2 separate regions of the Homo sapiens genome follow, and region 2 is linked to region 1. The links are contacts of gene promoters, found by promoter capture Hi-C in blood cells and fetal thymus (Javierre and others, 2016). All regions are on one chromosome and are shown on one strand. Each heading gives the region's core, a stretch centred on a gene start or on the middle of the fragment in contact. The rest is flanking DNA. Distances are from core to core; before and after follow the strand shown. Region 1 holds the start of CPNE8 (copine 8). Region 2 holds the start of SLC2A13 (solute carrier family 2 member 13).

The links. The method cuts DNA at HindIII sites, captures the fragments that hold promoters and counts their contacts. A CHiCAGO score of 5 or more calls a contact.
Region 2: a contact is called between the fragment with the promoter of SLC2A13 here and the fragment with the promoter of CPNE8 in region 1, in 1 of 17 cell types (total CD8 T cells). The highest score is 5.7, in total CD8 T cells.

The regions. Positions count from the first base shown.
Region 1 is chr12:38,901,951-38,907,374 of GRCh38, reverse strand. It overlaps CPNE8 (copine 8), which reads left to right and starts at 1,784. Exons shown (of 20, transcript NM_153634.3): 1 at 1,784-1,938. The coding sequence starts at 1,841. It overlaps CPNE8-AS1 (CPNE8 antisense RNA 1), which reads right to left and starts at 1,663. Exons shown (of 2, transcript XR_007063275.1): 1 at 378-1,663. RefSeq lists an enhancer at 240-499 and a silencer at 1,630-1,799. The HindIII fragment of the contact is 5,959 bases long and covers 1-3,619 here.
Region 2 is chr12:40,103,792-40,109,703 of GRCh38, reverse strand. It overlaps SLC2A13 (solute carrier family 2 member 13), which reads left to right and starts at 3,623. Exons shown (of 10, transcript NM_052885.4): 1 at 3,623-4,451. The coding sequence starts at 3,896. RefSeq lists silencers at 1,959-2,088, 3,470-3,719, 3,740-3,999, 4,020-4,089, 4,100-4,189 and an enhancer at 2,300-2,469. The HindIII fragment of the contact is 3,714 bases long and covers 2,380-5,912 here.

The sequences.
Region 1 (5,424 bases), core at 535-3,034:
TTTAAGTGCAGTTCATTATATATGTTATACCTCACTGAAGTGGAAACAAATTGGATGTAAGTATCCCACATGTTGACTACTAAAGTTCTCAAGTTTCATCTCTTCAGTAGGCTTCTGTAAAGTAAAATTCTGGTGAGCTTAAAAAAAAACCTAGATCTCTATGCCAAATTAACTTTGAGCAGCATAATAGAAATGCCTGGGGTTTTAGGGCATTTCCAAATCGCAGTAAACTACAGTTTAATTTGTAATAGGACAAGAGGAAGGAAAAAAAAAGAAGAAAAAGCGGTGGGTGGGGAAATCAGGAAAGGAAAGCAAGAAGAAACAGGGGAAGTACACTCGGCAGGGGAATCGGCAAGACTGCACCTACACACTCTCACCCGCCTCTATAGATTCTCTAGGCAGGAGGCTGCAAGTGGATTAAAATGTTACAACGCAAGGCAAGTCCTCCACCGCAAAAACTGCTCCTCCCAGACTTAGCCCAACCAGCTGGAAACTCCGTGCTTGGAGCGTTAAATCGGACGGACACCCGCCCCCTCTCCACCCTCTGCCTTCCAGCTGCGCCGCATCCTGTTCTCCGTCGCCGCCTGGTGGCGAGCTCCCGGGACCCGCAGGCGCTCGGGTGAGGCAGGAGGGAAGGCGCGGGGAACAAAGGTCCCTGCAGTGGAGGGGCGCCTCGTCTACCTCCGGATGCTTTTGCCACGACTCCGTCTTGGCACCAGTCTTGCTGCCCTGGAATGCAGTTTCCCAAACGCAGCGCTCACTCTGACTCCTCTCTGCTTTTATCCGTCAGGTCTCAGTTCTTGCGGGTGGGAGTCGGCTGAAGGAGCTGCGTTATATGGTTGTGACATCACCCTCCCCGGCCCCCATTTTCAGGTCAGAACTTTCATGCCTTTGGAAACGAGGGACCCAGAAGAGCCCTTACTGTAGGAGGAATGTCGCCGTTAGACCTCTAAGCTCCGAAGAACCAAGGGGAGACAGAATCCAGATTGCTTCCTTAAATCCCAAGTAGTATTGTTTTTTCCACCTTAGAGTCCGCCCCCCCGCCCCCACTTGTCCCATATATTGATCGGCCACTTTGCCACCGTGTTCCAAGGTTGGAGAGCGTCACAATGCCCCACCGTCCCCAACTCTCAAGTGGCCGACAGTGGGCAGTCCAGAAGCTGGGACCAGACTCATCTGCCCGAGGGCACAGTAGGAGGGACGGAGGGATCTCCCAAGAGCTCCGAGGGCGAGGTGAGAACCAATTGTGGGGAGGGGGACCTTATAACGGGGCAGTTAGGAACGGGCAGAGGTGCCCCCACCTCCAGCTTTCAACTCAGGCGAGGAAACTTCGAGACCTTCCCGTCCACACCTGATTGACAGAAGGAAGCTGTCGCGGCCCAGGAGGCGAGTGTGGGTGTGCAGAGGTGGAGACAAAACCTAAAAGCACGCAGAGCCGGCGAGGGCTTGCGGTCCTGGACGGTAGGGGTCTGCGTCTGGTGCCACCTTCTCCATCAGGCTGCTTGCTGGGTCCACCAAGCCTGACCCCTCCAGCCAGGAGGGGATCACGGAGTGTGTCCCCCGCCCGGGCTGCTGCCTGCCGGAAGGGGGCTGGGAAACCGGGATCCCCGCGCGCCACTTGCCTGGCAGCGTCAGTTTCACCCAGGACTGGCTAGCGGTTCCCTCGTGGCTCTGCGCGGAGGTCCGCCTCCTCCCTTCCCTCCCCCATCCCGCGCGCTGCCTCCGCCTCCTTCTTCTGCCTCCACCCTCAACCCCCATCCCCGCCTGACGGGAGCTAGCCCTCAGTCCGCCCGAGCTGTGGTTGTGGGCGCCGGACAAGTCCAAGGCGCCTCCTCCCAATATGGACAGCCGCTACAACAGCACTGCGGGCATCGGGGACTTGAACCAGCTGAGCGCTGCCATCCCGGCCACGCGGGTGGAGGTGTCCGTGTCCTGCAGGTGAGGACGCAGCCCTTCCCCTCTCTCCTGCCCTCTCATCTGTGGGGTTGGTAGCACTTGGAGAGCGCTCGGGGTACCACGAGGCTTTGCGCAGGCAAGAAGTTGCGCCATGAGTGGGAAATATCTCAGTAGTGGGGCTGGAGTTACCCCGGGTCAGGTGACACAGGGGAGCGGGAATTAGAAGCGGTGGGCTCCGGGACTGAGACTTTGTATTTTCTTTCTGGGAAACGCTGTAAAAGTTGGCTGGGCTGTGACTCAGCTGTGGGAACACCGGCCGCCGCCCACTTTACAAGCCGGTTTTCCGCCCCAAACCCGGGCTGGATGGTTGGGTGATGACCGGAATCGAAGGGGACAGCACTGCCAAAAGCTCTTGTGACCGCTGCACGCTTAGGCCCGGGACTTCCTCTGCTAGGCGTGTGCAAACCTGCTGTTGCTAGGGTTGGCTCCAACCCCGGCAGCTTCCTCCCCACCCACTTCCTGGAGCCTTCCAGCTTGCTTCTCCCCGACCCTTCCGGGCTTTTTGCCTTTTGCCTGATAGGTAGAGATTTCGGCCCTCCTTGCAGACGAATCTATGCCTTACCTAAGATCTGGGAAGTCACGACTTTTGTTTTGATTTGTTTTCGGGCCCACATCTGAGTGCTTGTAAAAACTGACTCTCGGCCGGGCGCAGTGGCTCAGTACAGTTTATACGCCTGTATTCCCAGCACTTTGGGAGGCCAAGGCGGGTGGATCACGAGGTCAGGAGTTCGAGACCAGCCTGGCCAATATGGTGAAACTCCGTCTCTACTAAAAATGCAAAAATTAGCCGGACGTGGTGGCACGCGCCTGTAGTCCCAGCTACTCGGGAGACTGAGACAGGAGAATCGCTTGAACCCGGGATGTGGATGTTGCAATGAGCTGAGATCTTGCCATTGCACTCCAGCCTGGGCGACAGCGCAAGACTCCATCTCAAAAAAAAAAAAAAAACAAAAAAAAACTGACTTTCAACCCTGTCCAGAGACTGTAAATTGCAAACTCGTTGTCCTGACCTTTCGGTTAGTTGCCCTGTAAATAAAGCAGCATCACCGCTATATCATAGATGATTTTGAGAAGGAGATGAGCGATGGTGCTAAATTGGTACTGGCCACTAATTTGCGAATTAATATTGACCCTGGAGCCCACTCCCTTGTTTGCATAATTGGGTCTGTCTCACTGGAAAACTGGCTCCTCATTTATCCATTTTTGCCCTAAGATTGTTTTTATGCCCTCACATCCTCCCTTTCCTTTCCTTAGCAAACTTGCCTTGAAGATATCTAACAAATTTGGGTGATCTTGATGTAAATAAGTTTAAAATTCCATCAATCTTGACTTTGCATTTTCACAAACTGAGCCTAAAGCCAAAGGAATTCTTTTCTGGGGGTGAAAATTCGAGCACCAGCAACCGTAGTAGAAGTATTATTTGAGGGTAGGGGACAGCCTTTATCTAGCCCTGAAACTATATCACCTGATTGTTTGCCGCCTCTTAAGACTGATCTGGGACTATGGAAATAATCATGCTGATAATGATAGCTATCATTAAGCTCTTGCCTCATTGCTGTCACTGCTTTAAGTGCTGCCTGAGATTTTTCTGTCAATGGAACAGGTGAAGCTGTTTGGAAAACTCTTTAGAGGATTCCTAGGCCTTTTTCTTTTCTCTGAAGCTTGCTTTCGATGTTAGAGGGAAGTTACTGGTATATACAGATAATGGATAGCCGGAAGTCCTACAATAACAGCATTACTAGAGTTCTTATCCTCTGCTCAACAGTCTGCAAAGTCTGAATGGCATGTGGCCTATACTTGGAATGAATATAAAAGAATATTGTCAATCAAGTCTGAATTTTTCCATGAGCTTTTTAAGGGAAATTATACCTAAACTGGTCATTCTGCCAGTAGGGCCCATGTTTAATGCAGCCCCTTTTTTGATGCATGTTTTCTGTGAGTGTGCTGGGCATACTGAAGTCAATTGGCTTAAGGCAATTTGTTTCAGTTTGCTGCCTCAGAACCTGCAAATCCCTTGTTCCAGCTTTTTTTCATAACATTGCTTTGACATTTTGTTTTTAATTTTTAAGATTTCTAACAGGAAAAAAAAATCCTGAAAGAGAACCTGAATACTTAGTGTCAAGCATCTCTGCCAGGGGCACTAGTGCTTAGTCTATTGTTTGAGTTGCTTCTGACTCAGCTTACTATTTACGATAAGTTTGAGGTAAAAAGCATCTTTTGGGCAAAGAGAAACATAATTAAATACCCAAGTTAGTGCCTTTGGAATAGGTTTGGGAATAGTTCCTGAAAAGGTGGGTTAAATTTATTTTTAATACATTAAAATTCAAAGATAAAAATATTTGAGTATTGTTGGATCTTGTAACCATAGGAGGTGGTTTAGTTTGGGCTTTGGCATCAGAGACCTAAGTACAAATTCTGGCTTTGTGACTTGTTCTTGCTACCTTGGAGTAAGTTCTTATTCAGTCTGTCTAAGCATTCTCATCTCCAAAAATAAGAATAGTTATGGTATTTACCTTATATAGAGTGTTATCAAGGTGATGTGTGAAAGCGCTTACACAATGCATGAAACAAAAACATGTTTTCAAAAATGTTAGCTATTATTATAATACTGGAAATAACATTTGTTGAATAAATGTGTTATATATGATTCAGGTATGGAATTCTGTAAAAGTCCTTCTCTTTTGAACTTCAATAAGTTGGTTAAAGAACACAAGGATAGAACCAGCATTGGGATACCTGTTCCCGCTTTCTCTATCTTCTTTGATGTGCATCAAGAACATGTTTTGTAGAAAGGTTGTGGGGATTTCACTTAGCAACAAAGCACAGTTGAAGGCCTCTGAGCCTTGCTATGGGCAGGCAGAGTAAGGAATTCCCTTGCCTTACTATACCAGAGACTTCTGAGGATTTGCCCACACTTCAAAAGCAGCTCAGATTTGAATAGGTTCTTTCTTTCTCATTCTTTATCTTTCTTTCTCTCTCTCCTTTCTTTCTTTCTTTCTTTTTCTTTCTTTCTTTCTTTCTTTCTCTTTCTTTCTTTTCTTTCTTTCTTTCTTTCTTTCTTTCTTTCTTTCTTTCTTTCTTTCTTTCTTTCTTTCTTTCTTTCCTTCCTTCCTTCCTTCCTTTCCTTCCTTCCTTCTTTCTTTTCTTTTTCTTTCTTTCTTTTTTCTTTCTTTCTTTCTTTCTTTCCTTCTTTCTCTTTCTCTTTCTTTCTTTCTTTTCTCTTTCTCTTTTCTTTTTTCTCTTTCCTTTCCTTTTCTTTTCTTCATTTCCTTTCTTTCACCTCCTTTCACTGTCCCCTATCATTAAAAGCTTTATGACAAAGTTTTTATCTTCATTTTGGGGAAGGTGAAAAAGATAAACGATTGAAGCTTGAATATAATTCATGGAAATAATTTAGTCTGTTTATTCATCAAGTGTCTGAGTGCCTTTTATATGTCTATGTTTATGCTAGGGTCCATGAGAAATGCA
Region 2 (5,912 bases), core at 2,374-4,873, 1.2 Mb before region 1:
TGATCACCAAACTGTAATCTCCCAGCTGCAGTAACTGGGGCAGGAATGGTACCACAACTGACAAATCCAATTACATACAATATAAGTTTGCTAGGGCTTTGGAGAAAGAGGCTCTTTTTCTGTCCTTTCAGACATGAGTGGAAAAGGATATTATATTAGGCTGTTCTTGCTATAAAGAAATATCTGAGACTGGATATTTTATAAGAAAAGAGGTTTAATTGGCTCACAGTTCTGCAGGCTGTACAGAAAGCACAGCACTGGCATCTGTTTCTGGAAAGATCTCAGGAAGCTTACAATCATGGCGGAAGGCAAAGGGGGAGCAGGCACATCACACGGTGAAAGCAAAGGACCAGATCTCCTGTGAACTCAAAAGGAGCTCATTTATCGCCAAGGAGATGACCCAAGCCATTCATTTGGGATCCACCCCCAGGATCTAAACTAGTCTTGTCAGGCCTCAACTTCAACACGGGGGATTACATCTCAACATGCGATTTTGATGGGGACAAATATCCAAACTATCTCAGGTATAGGGCTTGGAGTTTGCTACAGCCCTTTGAGCACCACATAAAATTTAAGAATGGAGCCTAAGGAGTAGGAAGCAGAGTGGAGAAATGGACGTCTGTGTGACATCCTGGTGTTTTTAGTCCTTTATCCAACTGCACTTGACGCCAACTTATTAGAGAGTTTTCAGAGACAATAGACAATAAGTACTCCCTCTTTCCCATTATTTTGGCTTAAACCAGTTTGATCTCGATTCTCTATCTCTTGCATCCAAAACAATTCAAAAACAAACAAATAAAACAACAATATATATATATGTATTTTACCATGTACATACATATGCATATAAATTCATAGAGAAAGTTCTGGAAAGATATATTTCAAAGTGGTAGAGGTGGTTATCTCTGGCCAAAGGGGTCTGTTATGGTGGGAAAGACGATTGAGAAGGGGCTTTTCGCCTTTCTTTATTGTTAGACTGCTTTGGAACATGTTACTGGAGGTTGTAAAGCAAATATCCTCAAAGCTGGAACTATAGAACTCACTGCAAACCAATAATGACTCTTGTAATTAAATTTGCCCTGCAATAGCAATTAATTATATTTCAAAAATACCCTTTAACACTCTCGTCAATGAGTAGTTGCTGCACCATTATCTGCTCTTCAAATGAGAGAAAAAAAAAAAAAGCAAAGCACAAGCTAATCTTGTGGTTTGTGGAAAGTTTTACGGTAAAACAATGGTGGTGTTGACATTCATCTCTTTTGATTCTCAGCCCATGGGTTTTCCAGTTCATCATAAACCGCAGCTGGGGCCGACTTTGGGGAACTCCATATTAGACTCACGCGCTGATGCTAAGTTGAACTGGACTCCCTCTCAAGGCTGAGACGAATTCTGTTTAACTCTCCGAAGCTTTTTTTTTTTTTTTGAGATGGAATCTCGCTCTGTCGCCCAGGCTGGATTGCAGTGGCACGATCTCGGCTCACTGCAACCTCCGCCTCCTGGGTTCAAGCAATACTCTGCCTCAGCCTCCCGAGTTGCTGGGATTACAGACGCGTGCCGCCATGCCCGGCTAACTTTTGTATTTTTAGTAGAGACAGGGTTTCACCACGTTGGCCAGGCTGGTCTTGAACTCCTGACCCCGTAATCCACCCGCCTCAGCCTCCCAAAGTGCTGTGATTACAGGCGTGAGCCACCGCGCCCGGCCTCCGATGCCTTTTTTTTCACGTCACATTTCTTTTAAAATGTAACCTGACCGCAGATACATAACTGTCCTAATACGGAACAGAATTTTTAAAGTAGTTTCTTGTTCTATGACCCCAAAGCTGAATTTCAAGCAAGGAATGCTCAGGAACCAAGATGTTCACTGCACCAGCTGAGACAAAAAGTAGTTTATTTTCATCTCAGCAAGAGGGAACTGTCAAAGAACCAGATGCTTCTCATCTGCGGAGCCCTTCTCTTCAGAAGCCGTGGGAATTGGCTCACCACCAGGGGGCGCAGTTTTACTATACCGTAGCATGCCGCGGAAAAGGCGCGCTCTCACCTGCAATATTGTCCGAGGTCTGAATATTAAAGAGTTCATTGCTGCAGATCTAAAGGCTCTCTCTGTTTAACTGATGCCTGGGAATGACGGTAGAGCCTTGCTTTAAAGCCAGACGATAACATTTAAATAGTTAAGCCGTCTGGCTTCATTAGTTTATTTTTCCTTGTTGCTGGCAAGGAAAGTACTATATTGTAGAGATAATCGTGACTGATAATCAAAACGAAAGCAGTTTTGACAAATTCTAATATAAGTTTTTACTGAAACAGGAATGACAAAATCCTTTTGTCTGAAAGGAAAAAAGTTATAGCTGCATGAAAAATAGGCCCCAGGCTAAGAAAGCTTTTGCTCAAATAAGGGAAATAAAAGAGCAGTGGAATTGTAGGAATAGAATCATATGATGCTTGACTTTTTGCCCTCAGCCTGAAGAATGAAAGCAAATTAGAGGCACAAAACATCTTTAGCAGTCCCAGCTGCTAGGAAGGCTGAGGCAGGAGAATCGCTTGAACCTGGGAGGCGGAGGCTGCAGTGTGCCGAGATAGCGCCACTGCACTCCAGCCTGGGCGACAGAGCGAGAATCTGTCTCAAAAACAAAACAAAACAAAACAAACTATCTTTAGCCCCTGATGCGCAACTGTATATTTTAAAAACATTTAAATTAAAGGGGGAAACAAACCCCAAATGAACCAACAACTGTTAATTCACTCAACAGTTTAAAAAATTGGTTGCAAATAACGTTATCTTTGCTTTGTTTCAAGTAAATGAGGCTGTTAAAACAGTGCCTCATGGAGGGCAACAGTGGGGATTCTCAGGAGAGAAGCTATCCTACCTTTTGGTTAGCATGTTGGGGCGGGGAAATGGAGACTGCCTGCCGAATCACAAATCAGGGTCTTGAGTTTTCTTTCTATTTCTGGGAATTACCCGTTACATGAGTGGAATGCATATATGTGAATTTTCTTTTACAGGTCGGGGATCCATGGAAGGAGGGTTTGGGATTCACCACAGAGATATGTTCTCTGTCCTCAAAGAATCAAATGTACCATTCCTTTAAAATAAGCATAAATTGAGGAGGGACTGGCGATGAGAGTGGAAACTAGCTATAGAAATGGGAGCATGCAGCCCTGAATTGCTCCAGAACAAACACATTTAATGCCAGGGAAGTAGACCACGCTGGGTAATGTCACAATACTATAAAAGGAAGGGTACTTGCTAGGTCCTATTCTAGGATATTTTTTCCAGCCCTCTCTCTAGGCTGCTGGAAGGACAGTGAGGCTGGTTTAGGTGCTCTCTCCCTCCTCTCCAAACACGGCAAACATTCTGGGTGGCTTCCCGTCTGGAAGCCTGTTGCCTGATGGCATCGCCACATTGGCTTGCTCCACCGCTGCAGCTCGGAAGGCAGGGTTAATTCCATACGGTTGCCAGAGCCCTAAATGAGGGAGCCTAGGTCAGAGGTCGCACCCACCGGGAGGGCGGGGTTTAGGGGTCCGGGGCGGGCTGAGCCTGGCCCCGCCCAAGGAGGGGGCGGGACGTTTCCCGGGCCCCGCCCCGCCGGCCCGGGGTTGCACGTGACCCGCGGTCCCGCCTCCCGCCCGCTCCGCAGCGCCAGCTCGGCAGGCGCGGGGCGTGAGTGTGGAGTGAGACCCGCCGGGCTCCAACTCCGCAGCGTCGGAGCGCGGCGGGCAGCAACTTTCTCCCCGGAGCGGCCGTGGCGGCGGCTGCTGCCGTGGCAGCCGGAGCGGAAGCCGGGAGGAAGAAAGCGGCGGCAGCGGCGGTTGCTCCCGCCGGCTCGGGCTGTCTAGCTCGCCGAGACTGCCGGCCCGCGGAGCCGCGTCCCCCCGGGCAGCCCCGGGCCCCTGCCCTATGTCCCGCAAGGCAAGCGAGAATGTGGAGTACACGCTGCGGAGCCTGAGCAGCCTGATGGGCGAGCGGCGCAGGAAGCAGCCGGAGCCGGACGCGGCGAGCGCGGCCGGGGAGTGCAGCCTCCTGGCTGCCGCCGAATCGAGCACCAGCCTGCAGAGCGCGGGCGCGGGCGGCGGCGGCGTCGGGGACCTGGAGCGCGCGGCGCGGCGGCAGTTCCAGCAGGACGAGACCCCCGCCTTCGTGTACGTGGTGGCCGTCTTCTCCGCGCTGGGCGGCTTCCTGTTTGGCTATGACACCGGGGTGGTGTCAGGGGCCATGCTGCTGCTCAAGCGGCAGCTCAGTCTGGACGCGCTGTGGCAGGAGCTGCTGGTGTCCAGCACGGTGGGGGCGGCTGCCGTCTCGGCGCTGGCCGGAGGCGCCCTCAACGGCGTCTTCGGCCGCCGCGCTGCCATCCTCCTGGCCAGTGCCCTCTTCACCGCCGGCTCCGCGGTGCTGGCTGCGGCCAACAACAAGGAGACACTGCTCGCCGGCCGCCTGGTCGTGGGACTCGGCATCGGTGAGTTCGGGCTCCGTGAAGGGCGCCCGGGATCCCATTGTCACCGCCCTTGACCCTGGGTGTTGCGTGCCTCTTGCCCATCGGGGTCCCCGTCTGGTCTCCCAGGGTCAGAGAATCCTCCACTTCTCTGGCCTCCAGAGCCCATCTGTTTGTTGGTCCAGCCTCCAAGGCTCTCCCGGGAGGTGGGAGGGTCGGGGGGGAGGGGGTGTCACTCTAGTCTCCCTCGAGCGCACGTGGAATCTTTGATAGGCCACGGACCAGTCAGTCCAAGTGGTTGTTGCCTCTCAGCACTTCCAGAAACCTAGCTGAGCACCAGCTCTTTCCTTGATCCAGCCTAACCTGATGCTGCTTCTTGAGCTTACGAGGGTCTCTGCTTTCCTGCACTGTCCCACCTTGCCTCTCCACTGCTAGCCCCTTTCGTTTTCTGGGGCTCCCAGCCTGGAACCTAGACCATCGTCAAGTTACAGTGAGATAATATTTAGAGTTAAGTAATTCTGGACTCTGAAAGGTTTATTAGCGACCCCTGCCCTCTTTGCTTATCTAGCATTTGTCTTTAGATGGCATCTCCTTTTGCTTTTATGCTTTTTCTATTGCCTTTCAGCTTTCATTCTTTTCCCAAGTAAATTCCATTCTCCTCTGTTTTTCCAACTTTTTCATTTGAATCCTTTTTTATCCATTCTCCTCTTTGTTTTTCCTCTCCTGCTTTCCAGTTGGGAACCAAATTATCTATTAAAGGTCATATTCACTTCCTTAATTCATTTAGGAGCTACTCCCCCTGTGGATAAATGCCCCGCAAGATAAATGTTTGGAATTTACTTCAAAAATGAAGGCATTAAGGTTCTCCTGGCGTTGAATTTTTTTCACCCTGGTTGCTGAGCAGGGGAGGTACAATTGGCAAGTTTTTGGCAGAGGGAAGCTATTTGGAATGTGCTCTGTATTATTAGAAAGCACTTTTGAGGGAAAGTGGGGGGCTGTGACTTAAATCTCACTAGTAATTTTTCTAAGACACACCGCTGATGCTTTTTTAATGTTTCGTTTCATAATTCAGTTTTTTGTTTCCCTTAGGGTGCTGTTGAAGTATTTCTTCCCTATGGCTGGGGCTTGATGAAAGCGCTTTAAACCTGGGGCTGCTGCTGATCTGTGTATTCACCACTTGTTTGATGTTTGTGCTTTTCACCCTTTCTCTGTGGGTTCTGAAGGGAAGCAAAGGCCATATATTCAACTCCACATGCGGGAACCATGAGCCTAAAACCCAGCTCACTGCACTTTATATTCAAAGTTTGTCAGTAGTGACCTTCCTTTTGCTGTTTATTGTACTGTTAATTAGCAAAGGTAGGGCAAAGCTCTCCGTAACATATTAAGTTGGCACAAAAATATCCAAAGTGACCAAAAAATCCAGCTGAAATGAAACCTATTTGTGTGGAAACTACTTGGGCCTTCAGGACCCTTCAACAAATAACC